Linked DNA regions of Homo sapiens: region 2 is linked to region 1. Evidence: promoter capture Hi-C in 16 types of primary human blood cells and fetal thymus (Javierre and others, 2016). All regions are on one chromosome and are shown on one strand. Each heading gives the region's core, a stretch centred on a gene start or on the middle of the fragment in contact. The rest is flanking DNA. Distances are from core to core; before and after follow the strand shown.

Region 1 (6,254 bases), core at 394-2,893:
GGTATAACAGAAAGAAAGGAGTCAAGGAAGTCAACGTTTTCACCCAGGAAGTGAGAATGGTGTAGATGTGATTAACAGAGGATGGGGAAGGCTGTGGGTGTCTGAGACAGGAGATCTGGAGCCTGGTTTGCACATGTGAATTCTGAGATGTCTATTAGACACCAGGTGGAGATGTCAGTTATATTTTTTCACTTCATTGGGTTTGAATTCTTTTATCTGCCTCTCTCCTTTTTTCAGAGCTGTATTGGCACTTATTCATGTTCCTTTGCTTTCAAGGTAGTGGCCTATGTCATAGAGAATTTGATGTTGGCGCTCAACTAAGAGGTGAAAGAGAAATATAGAGAAGCAGTTCCAGCAAGAGTAATATAAAAAGGTCTACAGATACAATTTGTAACTCAGATTCCCTTTCACAAGGTTGGGCAGGGACAGTCCCTTTGCTAGGAAGTCACACAAGCTGTTTAGTGCACACAGGTGACTTAAGGAACCCCAAAATGTTAGCTGACAATCTATTCCAAGTGTTTAAACTAGATGTTGAAAATCATGTTTGAAAAGTTCAACGCAGTAGCTCATACATAAAACTCATTGTGTCTATAGATATCAAAATAAGAACTTGTGGGGGGTGGGGGCAAACAAAAATAAATCCCTGGGACCAGAACAGCAGAGTGGTCCCCGATGCTTGGGCTGACCTTAACACACCTCTACGTGGCCGGGGCAAGGAGTGGGGGGGAGCTGAGGGAATCAGCAGGAGCGGTGACATCTTGAAGGACGAGGTATTGTTTCTGCACCATGTGGGTCCGGTTTGGAAATTTGAGCATCTAGAGGAGGAGGCTTGTTCTGTCCAAGGCAAAGCCAGACCTACCAATAAATGTTTCTGATTATGTCACAGAACTTGCCATCCTGGTCTGTCGCTAAGGAGTGATCAACTTTAAATCTGGAGTGTTTGTTGGTCTAGGGGTGGTAGTGGGTCTGGTGTTGAAACCTCTCTGCCTAATTTCGTGGTCATTTTACTGTCTGAGGTGCCAGAGTGGGCTTGGAAAGCAGGGGAGGGTGCAGCAAATTACAAATAAGCAAAATAAATCCTAAGAGGATTTATCGCCACAGAAGCAACTCGGACGCAACTCTTGGGCTCAAAAAGAATGCCCAGTACAGCCCGGGCTGGTGGGCCGGTCTTTTGCCCAAGGTTAGCTTTCAGCCCCTGGGCGGCGGCGTGGCGCCAGGAGCGGGCGGGGAGCAGCGACCCGACGCGGCTGGGTCTCCTAGTAGGGCGCGTCGGGTGTGGGGAGGGGGCGCGGCGTGAGACAGTGGGGGACACTGCGTGAGGAAAGCCCTGCGCTTCTCTCCGGGGCACCAGGACTTGCGCCCCCTCTTCGGGTCCAGGCCGCGCGCGGGACCCGACAGCCCGGCCGAGGGCTCCGCGACCCACTTGCGGCCAGAGCGCTGCTCACCTGGGCGCCGCCGAAGGTGCCGCTCAGACGCGAGGGCGCGGCCGCTGGCGGGCGGGGAGCGGGGAGGCGGGACCCGGCGCGACGGGGCTGCCCCGCCCCCCGATGATGCGGCGGCCGCCGACTCGCCCCCACGCTGTCACTCATTCCTCACCATGGTTGCAGCACAAAGCAACAAGCCCCAGAGGCCGCTTCCTCCCTGAGGAGCGGCTCCGGCGGCCGGAGAAGGCGCAGGAGGAGGAAGAGGCGGAGGAAGAGGAGGGGAATCGCCGCTTCCCAAACACTCTCTCCGAGGGGGCTGTGCGCGGCTCTCGGCTTTCGGCCCTCGGACGCCCGCGCCGGGAGTCCGAACCCGGGCTGTCCGCGGCCCCCTCTTCCCCCTCCTCCGCCCCGCGCAGACGAGGAACAAAGTTGCCGAGAGCGACTGGGCCGGAGGGCTGCAGCCCGGGCCGGGTGCTCTGGCCGCGGCGGCGCCGGCGCCGGGGCAGCTCCGCTCCGGGCGCGCTGATGGGGGGAGGCGGCGGCGGCGGAGCCCACAGCGGCGGCCCGAGCAGCAGAGGCGGCGGCGGCGGCGGCTGGGCGGCCCGAGGGGATGCAGCAGCAGTCGGGAGGGACGGCCGAGCCCAGTAGACAGAGACCAGGAGCGGCGGCCGAGGCGATCGGGCTTCGCAGCGCCCGGACCTGAGCCAGACCCACCTGGTCCGTCCTCCCGACCGGCGGCCGAGGCGCCCGAGGACTGGGGACGCGGAAGATCCAAGTGATTCTCGGAGACCCCTGGGCGGCGGCTGCGCAAGCCCCTGAGAGGAGGGGGCGACCCTCAGCGCCGTGGGGGAGGAGGCTCCGCCTGCCCACAGCCCTCCCCACTGCCACTCGTACCTCCCTAAAAATAACTCGGGCCCGCTGGGGCCAGGAGGAGCCGCCACTGTCCCCCGAGTGGAGCCGGGGAGGCGTGTCGAGCCAGGGCCGGAGGAAGCCGGCGGAGCGGCGAGGAAGAGGAGGAGGAGGAGGAAGGGGAGTTCCGCCTGCGGGCCGCATCGCACGGCAGCCTAGGGGCGCCGCGACCCTCCCGGCTGCGTCCAGCCCCTCGCGCCTGTACCGCGCTCTCGGCCGCCGGGCCCAGCCGAGCCGCCCCCCCGCGGGCCCCGCGCCGCCGCCGCCGCGGTTTGGCTGATTAGTCGCGGGCGGGCGGGCGGGCGCAGCGCGCAGGGCGGAGGCAGCAGCGGCGCTGGGCCGGGAGGAGGCCGGCCAGGGTGCGGAGCGGCCCCGGCCCGCTCCCAGAGGGGAGATGGCGTCCTACGTAGATAACAGCTTCCGCCAGGCGGTGATGAAGAATCCCCCCGAAAGGACCCCCCAGGTGAGAACGCGGCGGCCGCCTGCCCTTGGCCGGATTTCTGCCTCGCAGGCTGCGTCTTCCCCTGTCCCCCCACCTCCTTCCTGACACAGTTCGCCCCGAGCACCCCACTTCTTGCATCAGGACCCCCAACTTCCAAAGGCATCCCACCTCCGAGTCTTTTACTCCGCCTATCCTGGTTTTATTTTTCCCTCTCCTTGACATTCTGCTCCTTAACTCTTCCCTCCCCATGACTGACCTTTCCCACTATGTTGCCCAGCCGAGAGAGAGAGAGAGAGAGAGAGAGAGAGAGAGAGAGGGAGAGACAGAGAGAGAGAGAGAGAGAGTGTGTGTGTGTGTGTGTATGTGTGTGAATGTGTGAATTCTCTAGCTTTCCCTCTCCCCAGCCGCCCTCCGTGGCCTCTGAATCTCAGGGGATGGAGTCTCATCTCCCCTCGGGCAGCGACTCTTGCTCCCTCTGACTCCAGATCCGTTCCTCCCCTTGCAAGTGACCCTTGGAGTTCAGTGGTGTTTGAAAGGTATAGGAGGAAACCTGTACGGTTGTGCTAAAGACAAATCCATGCTGACCTTCAGTAAAACATTGAGGTGTTTGTATGTTTACTGTTTTGCTTTTATTTTTTAAAGGATACTGCTTTCAATTGAAGGGAAAAAAAGTTGAATAGCTAAGTTAGTGCTTTTAGTTTAAATTGCAGACATAGCTGCAGAGCAGGCATGTTCCAGTACACCCTCGGGAAGGGCACCCTGCGGATTCTTTTGGTGTTGCACAACCTTGTCAAAATTAGATAAGTTTGTTAACCTTTATACATTTGTTTACCTGCAGGCTTACTCTTCTCTTACTTATAGCGGCTGATAGGGTTGGATTTGGTTGTCTCAAGTTTTACTGGAGAGGGGGAAATTTTATAAAAATGTGGTAGCTTAATTTTCTCCGCCTTTAGTTGCTGACTGGATAATGACGCATATTCCTAAGCGTTGGGATGGTGACTATAGGAGATCCTGCCTGCCAACCCTCTTAAGACAAATAAGCCCTCCTGATCCTTGGGACCATCAGACATTTAGGATCTAATGCTTGAAAGTGTTGCTTCGCTTGTTAGATGTTGGATGCCATCTGTTCAAATCCAAATGCTCTCCTTCTCTGATGTTGATTATTATTTACTGTGGGGAGAGCATAATAAAATAGACTCTTCCCCTGGCTGCCTTTGGACAAGCCCCAAGAGTGGCACCTGGTACCGTTTTTGATTTTTCATTTTCCTTGATGGAGCTGTCACATCTGGGAGATCATGGATAGATTGCACATATTTATCAAACGTGTGGAAGATGGCTGTAATTTTACAAGAAAATTTATCTGTCTCCAGAAAGTTCCCATTCTAAAAGACTATTTTTATCCCAACAAGGAATGTCCTGCATTGATCTTGTTCTTCTCTTGGTGTTGCACACGCTGCCTTTCCTATGCCTTTCTCATCTATTTGTTTTAAAATGGTCAGTTGGATCAGTCTTCTGCATCTGAAAATGCACATTCCCTGTCTCAGTGTGAAGGAAAAGCAGATTTCAGTGAGATATTTCATTTCCTTTCAAGAATATTGTTTTAAGTGCCAAGTGAAATTACGCATGCTGAGAATATTAGAACCTAGCAAGGCTGGTCAGAAAATGATGTCAGAGGCCTTTGGTGGAAATTAGAGAAGGGGGAAGTGGTGCATTTGGTTGATTAGTTAGAAGAATAACAATGACTAAAACCTACTATCAGGTTGGGGGGCGGGTCACCAAACAAGACTAGAAGAGACAAAACCTCCACTGTGACTGTGGGCCCACTGTGCCAAATAAATGAACTGTTAAACTTTCCTGTTCCCCTGCCAGTTGTGTAGAATAGAGTAAAAACTGACCCAACACAGAACTTGGCCTGGGCCAGCTACTACTAACCCACGACATGAAAGCTTTATTGACAGTCGGAAGGCAGCCCATTTGCCCTACCAAACCTTCATAGAAAAAGTAAACATAAGGAAACCTACCAAACATTTCAAACATTCCTAAGTGTCAGCCCTATTAACTTTGATGTTCGTTTGGTTATTACTACAAATCCCCACGTTTATTTCTTTTCAAGAGAAAGTTGTTCGAAATGTGAACGTTTTCCATCTTTACCTGACTGGCCAGGAGTAATCTTATAAAAATTTGAAATTTACTCAAAAATTATAAAAAAAAAAGTTTTTGTAGAAGGTACTTTTTATGTTAAGAATGCTTTGTTAATGGAACGCTGGAAGATTTTCCATACAGCCTTGTCTTATAAATGTTTGTGAGTTCGAATTTTATAATATTAGAAAAGCAACCATGTTAAATAAGCTTGATATCATGAACAGAAGGACAGGAATTAGGAAAGTTTTGCTGTTTTGCTTCCTTCTGTTTCTGAGGATAGACTCGATAAAGGAGTTTGCATGATTCTCGTTATAGGCAAAAGGAAAAGAATTGGGGAACATATGTAATTTTTTTTCCTGCTGTTCATTTCTGTTTGTTTTTTAAAGGCTTGCTGGCCTCATTCATTTCCCAAGCTCCGTGAAAACATAGTTTTGTATTTAGGTCAATCAATTGCCTAGAAGTAATCCTGATGTCATTGGTGTAACCTAAGAAGTTGGCTAGAAGAGAATCTAGGGGTGGGAAGAGTACCAGGAACTTTCATAAATTGGGAGCTTTTCATGTCCACCTGCACAATGGAAACGCATTTCAGTTATATCTTTAGAGAGGGGGAATAGTAAGGAGAAATACCAAAAAAATTATCATCTAAGTTTTAGCCAGGTTATACATACTCAGTTTCAAGAGACTATCACTATTTCACCTGATATTGTGAGAGGAGGAGGAAAACTCTAATCCAATGTGTGTCCCATATTGTGTGTCTGGAAACCTGGCTGAGTTCTAGTCAATGGGGCATTGTATTCTAAATAACAAACTTCCTTGAAAATAATGAGCCCTGAAAACATTCTACTGATATTTTTCAGTGCACCTCTGTTGAAAAACAGGACTCTTAAGTAATTGCTTTATTTAACCATTTGGGTTTATGTCTTTAATCACTTAAATGAGAAGCTTGGTCACCAAGGCAATTTGGTGAAGTAAAAGATGTAAATAAATTACAAACAGCTTTTATCCCCCAAGGCTTATACAATAAAATGGTTTTTCTAAACCATTTTGTTAACTTGTTGAGTTCAGGCCCTTTGAAATTGCTTCTGTAGAGTGTCTAAATGCATACCATTTTCAGTTTTTCAGGTGAAACATCTATTGCAAAACTGTTTCTTCTCTTTAAAGACCTAATGTAATGCATTTTTAGCTAGTTGTAAAAGTTACTGTTAAAAATGTTATGTGTAAAATAACCCCCACCCCATCTCCTCCTATTTAATAATCTTACTTTTTTTTGGGCTATTACAACTTTTGATATAAGTACTAACTCATTGATGTGTTATAAAGAATACAGGACTTAATTC
Region 2 (5,876 bases), core at 3,330-5,829, about 30 Mb before region 1:
CCCTCCCTCATACAATATTACTCAACAAAGTTAATAAAAAGTTATTATTATTATTTTTTTGAGATGGAGTTTCGCTCTCATTGCCCAGGCTGCAGTGCAATGGTGCAATCTCGGCTCACCGCAGCCTCCGCCTCCTGGGTCAAGCGATTTTCCTGCCTCAGCTTCCCAAGTAGCCGGGATTACAGGCATGCGCCACCACGCCTGGGTAATTTCTTTTTTTTTTTTCTTTTTTTTTTGAGATGGAGTCTCGGTCTGTCACCCAGGCTGGAGTAGAGCGGCAAGATCTCAGCTCACTGCAAACTCCGCCTCCCGGGTTCAAGCAATTCTTCTGCCTCAGCTTACCAAGTAGCTGGGATGACAGGTATGCACCACCACGCCCAGCTAATTTTTGTATTTTTAGTAGAGACGGGGTTTCACCATGTTGGCCAGGCTGGTCTTGAACGCTTGACCTTGTGATCCGCCTGCCTTGGCCTCCCAAAGTGCTGGGATTACAGGCGTGAGCCACCGCGCCCAGCGAATTTTTATATTTAGTAGAGATGGGTTTTCACTATATTGATCAGGCTGGTCTCAAACTCCTGACCTCAAGTGATCCACCCGCCTCAGCCTCCCAAAGTGCTGGGAATACAGGTGTGAGCCACCACGCCTGGTTGAAAAATAAAAAGTTATTTTTTATCATTTAGTTATTAGAATTATTTTTAAAAACAACAATCTAAGCCCTCTTTAGTAACAAGACATTTTTGGCACAAAATTCCAAAAAAATTAAAGTACATGCAAATAAACTTTTAGGATACAACCCATTTTATCCAAGATTGCCCTTTTACAGTAAAAAAAAAAAAAATTCTTCTCTCTGGGTGCAGGCGCAGTGGCTCACGCCTATTATCCCAGCACTTTGGGAGAGCGAGGAGGGCGGATCGCTTGAGCTCAGGAGTTTGAGACCAGTCTGGGAAACACGGTGAAATCCTGTCTCTACAAAAAATATGAAAAATTAGTCAGGTGTGGTGGTTCATGCCTGTGTTCCCAGCTACTTTGGAGGCTGAGGTGGGGGAATTGCTTGAGGCCTGGAGGTGGAGGCTGCACTGAGCCATGTTGGGACCACTGAACTCCAGCCTGGGTGGCAGAGTGAGACCCTGATCTTGAAAAAAAAAAAAATTATCTCGTTGGAATGTATACCAACTGACAGTGGTATTTGCCAGTAAGAATTTCTTGCTCATTTCCCTAAAGGAATGAGATAATACAGGACTTTAGTGTATGCATCCCTTCATTTCAAATATGAACAATTCTGAATCTCTTATCAAGGCCTTATAATTCTTTACCTACAGAGAAGTAGATGAAATGACTAAGTAAACATTCAGAGGTTTAATCAAGTCTGGTTTCAAAATCAGGAATATGAATATAAATATCCAAATTTCTATTTCATAAAAACCCATTATTATGGAAGAAAATAATTAAACTGTTTATGACTACAGCAGAATGTACAGGATATATAGAATTGTAATTATCACCACGAACAGGAAAGACAAGAATCTTGATATTTCTATTACACTGAGTACCTTGTAGCTATTTTGTTGAATGTCTTTTCATCTCTGATAATAAGGTGTGAATTAAAAAGAACTATTCCAGAGACTAGGAAATGATGATCCGGAATGATTTGGCAAGGTAAGACAGTAAGTGACAGAGTGGAATCAGAAACTCGCTTTCCTAATTGCCAGCTTAGTACTTCTTATTCTAGGCTGTATTATCTGTGCTGCCGCAAGGCAAACCATATCATTGCCTTTCCCATTTTAGAAATAGGTTGTATAGGAGTTTCCTTTGTGGTCTGATGGCAAGAGACACCTATTATTTAAGAAATGCCAACTGCTGATCATTGATGACAAAATATTTTTACATGTTCCTTATGGATTCAAGTTGTCCGCCATTTCTTCAAATAATCATCACGTTTCTAAGTTTGGTAAGAAAATCAGAAATGACTGAATGTTAAAGAGAAAGGGGCCTTAGGCATTATTTTTCCTATCATCTCAGTGGGGAAACTAAAGCCCAAAGAGTCATATTGGGAGTTGGTGGGAGTCTCCTGACTTCTTGTCCAGGGCTATTTATAGCACATAGCACTGTTTCAGTGGATGAGTATTCTGAAGCCACGGCATAATTGAGACTCTGTACATGGCACCTTCACTCATGTTCAATGTGTCAGTGTGGGGAGTTTGTGTGCCATTTTATCCCTTTATTTTTGTCATCCATTTTATTCAATACTTTCGTTGGTGCCTGATGTTTTTGATAGAAAAAGCAAATAAAAGAGTAAGCAGCAAATGTGAGTTAAAAAAATTTTTTTTTTGAGACAGAGTCTCGCTCTGTCGCCCAGGCTACAGTGCAGTGGCGTGATCTCGGCACACTGCAAGCTCCTCCTGCCGGGTTCACGCCATTCTCCTGCCTCAGCCTCCCCAGCAGCTGGGACTACAGGCGCCCGCCACCACACCCGGCTAATTTTTTGTATTTTTAGTAGAGACGGGGTTTCACCGTGTTAGCCAGGATGGTCTGGATCTCCTGACCTCGTGATCCGCCCGCCTCTGCCTCCCAAAGTGCTGGGATTACAGGCATGAGCCACCGCGCCCGGTCGACAAAAATTTTCTTAACATGAATGCGTGAAGTAAGGCTGTTTGGAATTTAGAAAAGTTGCAATTTTTGATGGAGAGAAAACCAAGAAGGAGTTGAGTGATGGCCGAGGGAGTGGACAACCTCCTACTGCCAGGGCCTCTACTCCTGAACTGTTATGAGGTTGCCTGATTCCTCTTAACAACCCTTCAGGTTAGGGGCCAGCTGTTAACTTAATTTTATTACCAGGGAAGAAACTGAGGCTCAGATAAAGTTCTTTTATCCCACAGGCACACAAACTGCTAACTGATAGAGCCAGATCCAGCCATGTCTGGCTACAAAGCCTGTGTACTTTAACTTCTACAGAGAGTATGTGCGAGGTGAACCAGTAAAAATAACAATAACAAGTGCAATACTAAGAATAGTAATAATGATAGTTAACACAGTGCTTTACATGTGTGATCGCTTTGAACAGGATTAAGTGAACACATGAATAGGACTGGCAGGGAGTCTTTCTACTCTTCATTAGCGAAACAGGAGAGGACATATACAGTACTTAGGATTTCCACTGGCTTACTTTGTTTTCTGAAAAATAACTGAAAGGCTCAATTAGTTTTGTTTTGTCGCATTTATCAGATTATAACGTTCTGGATGTGGGTCTGGATGTGGGTAGTTGGGCTGGTGTGGGATTACATGAAATCAAACCTGATATATTCAGAAAGATTCTTCCGGTGGACACATATGCCTTTTGGGTTCGATATTCAATTTTGTAATTAGTGATCACTGTTCCTATTTATTTATTTATTTATTTGAGACGGAGTTTCGCTCTTATTGCCCAGGCTGGACCACAATGGCGCATTATCGGCTCATCACAACCTCCACCTCCCGGGTTCAAGCGATTCTCCTGCCTCAGCCTCCCCAGTAGCTGGGGTTACAGGCATGTACCACCATGCCCGGCTAATTTTGTATTTTTTAGTAGAGACAGGGTTTATCCATGTTGGTCAGGCTGGTCTTGAACTCCCGACCTCAGGTGATCCGCCCACCTAGGCCTCCCAAAGTGCTGGGATTACAGGCGTGAGCCACCGCGCCCGGCCTGAATGGGAGTTTTTAATCCGTACTTTTTTCTTATTGAAGTTGAATGTCATATACCCCTCTATTTCCCTAGATGAATCCATGAAAGAAGTATGTTGCCCTCTATATGAAAAAGCAAGCTTGTCTTCTGCAGAAAATCAGTAACCACTCCTTTTTACACATAAATACCCCCAAATGAATCTCCGATGACTGATCTGATACTAGTCTGCAATTCTAGTTTTAGCATTAGGCTCACTCCTCATATTTGGGAGAAGATGTCCAATTCTGTAGTAATGTGTAACATAAAGTGGTGTCAATTTATAAATAATATCTTCTAATGAATTAATGCTCATTTGCAATGATCACTTCCATACAAATTTAGGTAAAGATGTTATTCAGAATTGGATTCTCTCTATTTAAAAATGTCATCCTAATGTGCAACTCCCTAAAACTGTTACTACAAACAACTATTTTGCCACTCAGCCTAAAAATAAAACCTTTCACCCAAATGACACATCTTAATAGCCATATTTTAATCTACGTAATTTTAAACTATTCTGAAAGAATCCATTTCTAGATGTCAGACAAGAGTTGAAACTGGGACAGCAGTTTGAAGGGGCTAATTTAAAAACCCACTTGCTTGGAGACACCTCAAGAATTTCTAGGCTCACAAGGTGGGTGAAGTAAGGAAAGAGACTAAGAGCTGAACAGTGCCGTTCTTTGCGAGCCCCCACTGGCGCAGGCTGAGCCGGCTGCGGCTAGGGCTGCGAAGAGTTAACGAGGGACCGAGCCCCAGCGCCGCGGGCTCCCCGCATGCTCCCTCCGCCCTCCCGTCCCCACCCTCTCGTTTTGGCAAGGGATTAAAGTGCTCCCCCCTGTGGCAGCAGTGACCCAGAAATGAGTTTGATTCACATAGTCCTTCCTCCATAACAAGCCAAACGCCAGACCGAGAGTGCCTCCGTGCGCGAGTGCCCGGTGTGTGCGCGCCGGCGAGAGCAGGGGCCCGCCCGGCTCCCCGCCCGCCGCGGCCCGAACTCATGCAGCTCCGAGCGAGCGAGCGGCGCCCAGCCCAGCGCCTCGGCCGAACCCCTCCGCAGCAGGTACGCGCGCGGGCCGCGGGGGGCGCGCGGGGTGGGCGCGCCGCGCGTGTGTCCGCGCGTGTCCGCGTGTGGGTCCGTGTGCGCGTCCCGGTCCCGCGGCGGCGACGGCGGCGGCGGCGGCGGCGGCTGCAGGACGAGCCGAGAGGCTCAGCCATATTTGATGGTTTTGTTGCTTTGCTCGGGAGTTCTCGGGAGTAATTTAATGCCGAAGGTCGCTGCCTAGTGGAAATAATATAATACGTCATTAATATGGCGCCAAAAGATTGGGTTCTCGATCTGTAGCGAGGAGGGAGGGAGGCAGCCGCTGAGCGCAGCGTTACTATCCCACCAGTAACTTGGGCATTGCCGGGGCGGGGGCCGGAGGAGGAGGAGAGGATGATTTTTGGATCCTGAGAATTGATCTATGTTGGATCAGTAAGTTTTATTATGATTTTTTTTTTCAAATTTGGGGGGCTGAAGACTTAGAGCTATTTCTTCTTTTGGATTTGCGAAGAACATGCGGTTTTCAGGTGAATCATCAATTAAACGCGTTTAGGAGCAGAAGCCCAGTTTAAGTTGGCTTTAGTTTATAGGTTTTTTTTTTTTTTTTTTTTTTTTAGAAAGCCAAAGTGCATTAGGCTGCATGAAAGTGGAAAGCATAGTAGCAACTTGGTAGACAGATGGCAATGGCAGAACGCAGGTTCGCGTACATATATGAATCCAGAGTGTGTGAGACCGTGTGTGTGGTGGGACTGTATTTGTCCAAACATAGGTGTGCGTAGGTACATCTGTGTGTGGTGGCCGCAGCCCTGGCTCTTGTCACCGCGTCACCACATGTCCAAAATATTCATTGCATCAATTCAAGGGCAGTGAGAGGGGGGTGGGGGTGGGGGTGGAGGGACAGTTTGGCAATTAGATTCTTCCGAACTGGGCTTCCAGTGATCAGATCTTTTACTTACAGCGCGACTGCTTGTAAAGTGTAAAACCCCTTAATCGATGAAATGGGGTAGGAGTTGGCGTTGGTAGAGCAAAGTACCGATTAATCGTGAACTTAAAGGGGATTGCAAATTGCAACCTTTGGCACCATCTGCAAATTGTGGGGGTGGGGTCTCTTGGTCTCCTTGCTTCCTTAAATGAACG

What was found. The method cuts DNA at HindIII sites, captures the fragments that hold promoters and counts their contacts. A CHiCAGO score of 5 or more calls a contact.
Region 2: a contact is called between the fragment with the promoter of JADE1 here and the fragment with the promoter of RAPGEF2 in region 1, in 1 of 17 cell types (total CD4 T cells). The highest score is 6.5, in total CD4 T cells.

The regions. Positions count from the first base shown.
Region 1 is chr4:159,101,436-159,107,689 of GRCh38, forward strand. RAPGEF2 (Rap guanine nucleotide exchange factor 2) reads left to right here and starts at 1,644. Exons shown (of 30, transcript NM_001394067.2): 1 at 1,644-2,796. The coding sequence starts at 2,728. RefSeq lists an enhancer at 794-1,485 and silencers at 1,134-1,673, 1,804-2,023, 2,064-2,353, 2,102-2,396, 2,364-2,783. The HindIII fragment of the contact is 5,553 bases long and covers 1-4,719 here.
Region 2 is chr4:128,805,121-128,810,996 of GRCh38, forward strand. JADE1 (jade family PHD finger 1) reads left to right here and starts at 4,580. Exons shown (of 11, transcript NM_199320.4): 1 at 4,580-4,757. RefSeq lists silencers at 4,403-4,882, 5,393-5,512 and an enhancer at 4,983-5,092. The HindIII fragment of the contact is 6,052 bases long and covers 3,796-5,876 here.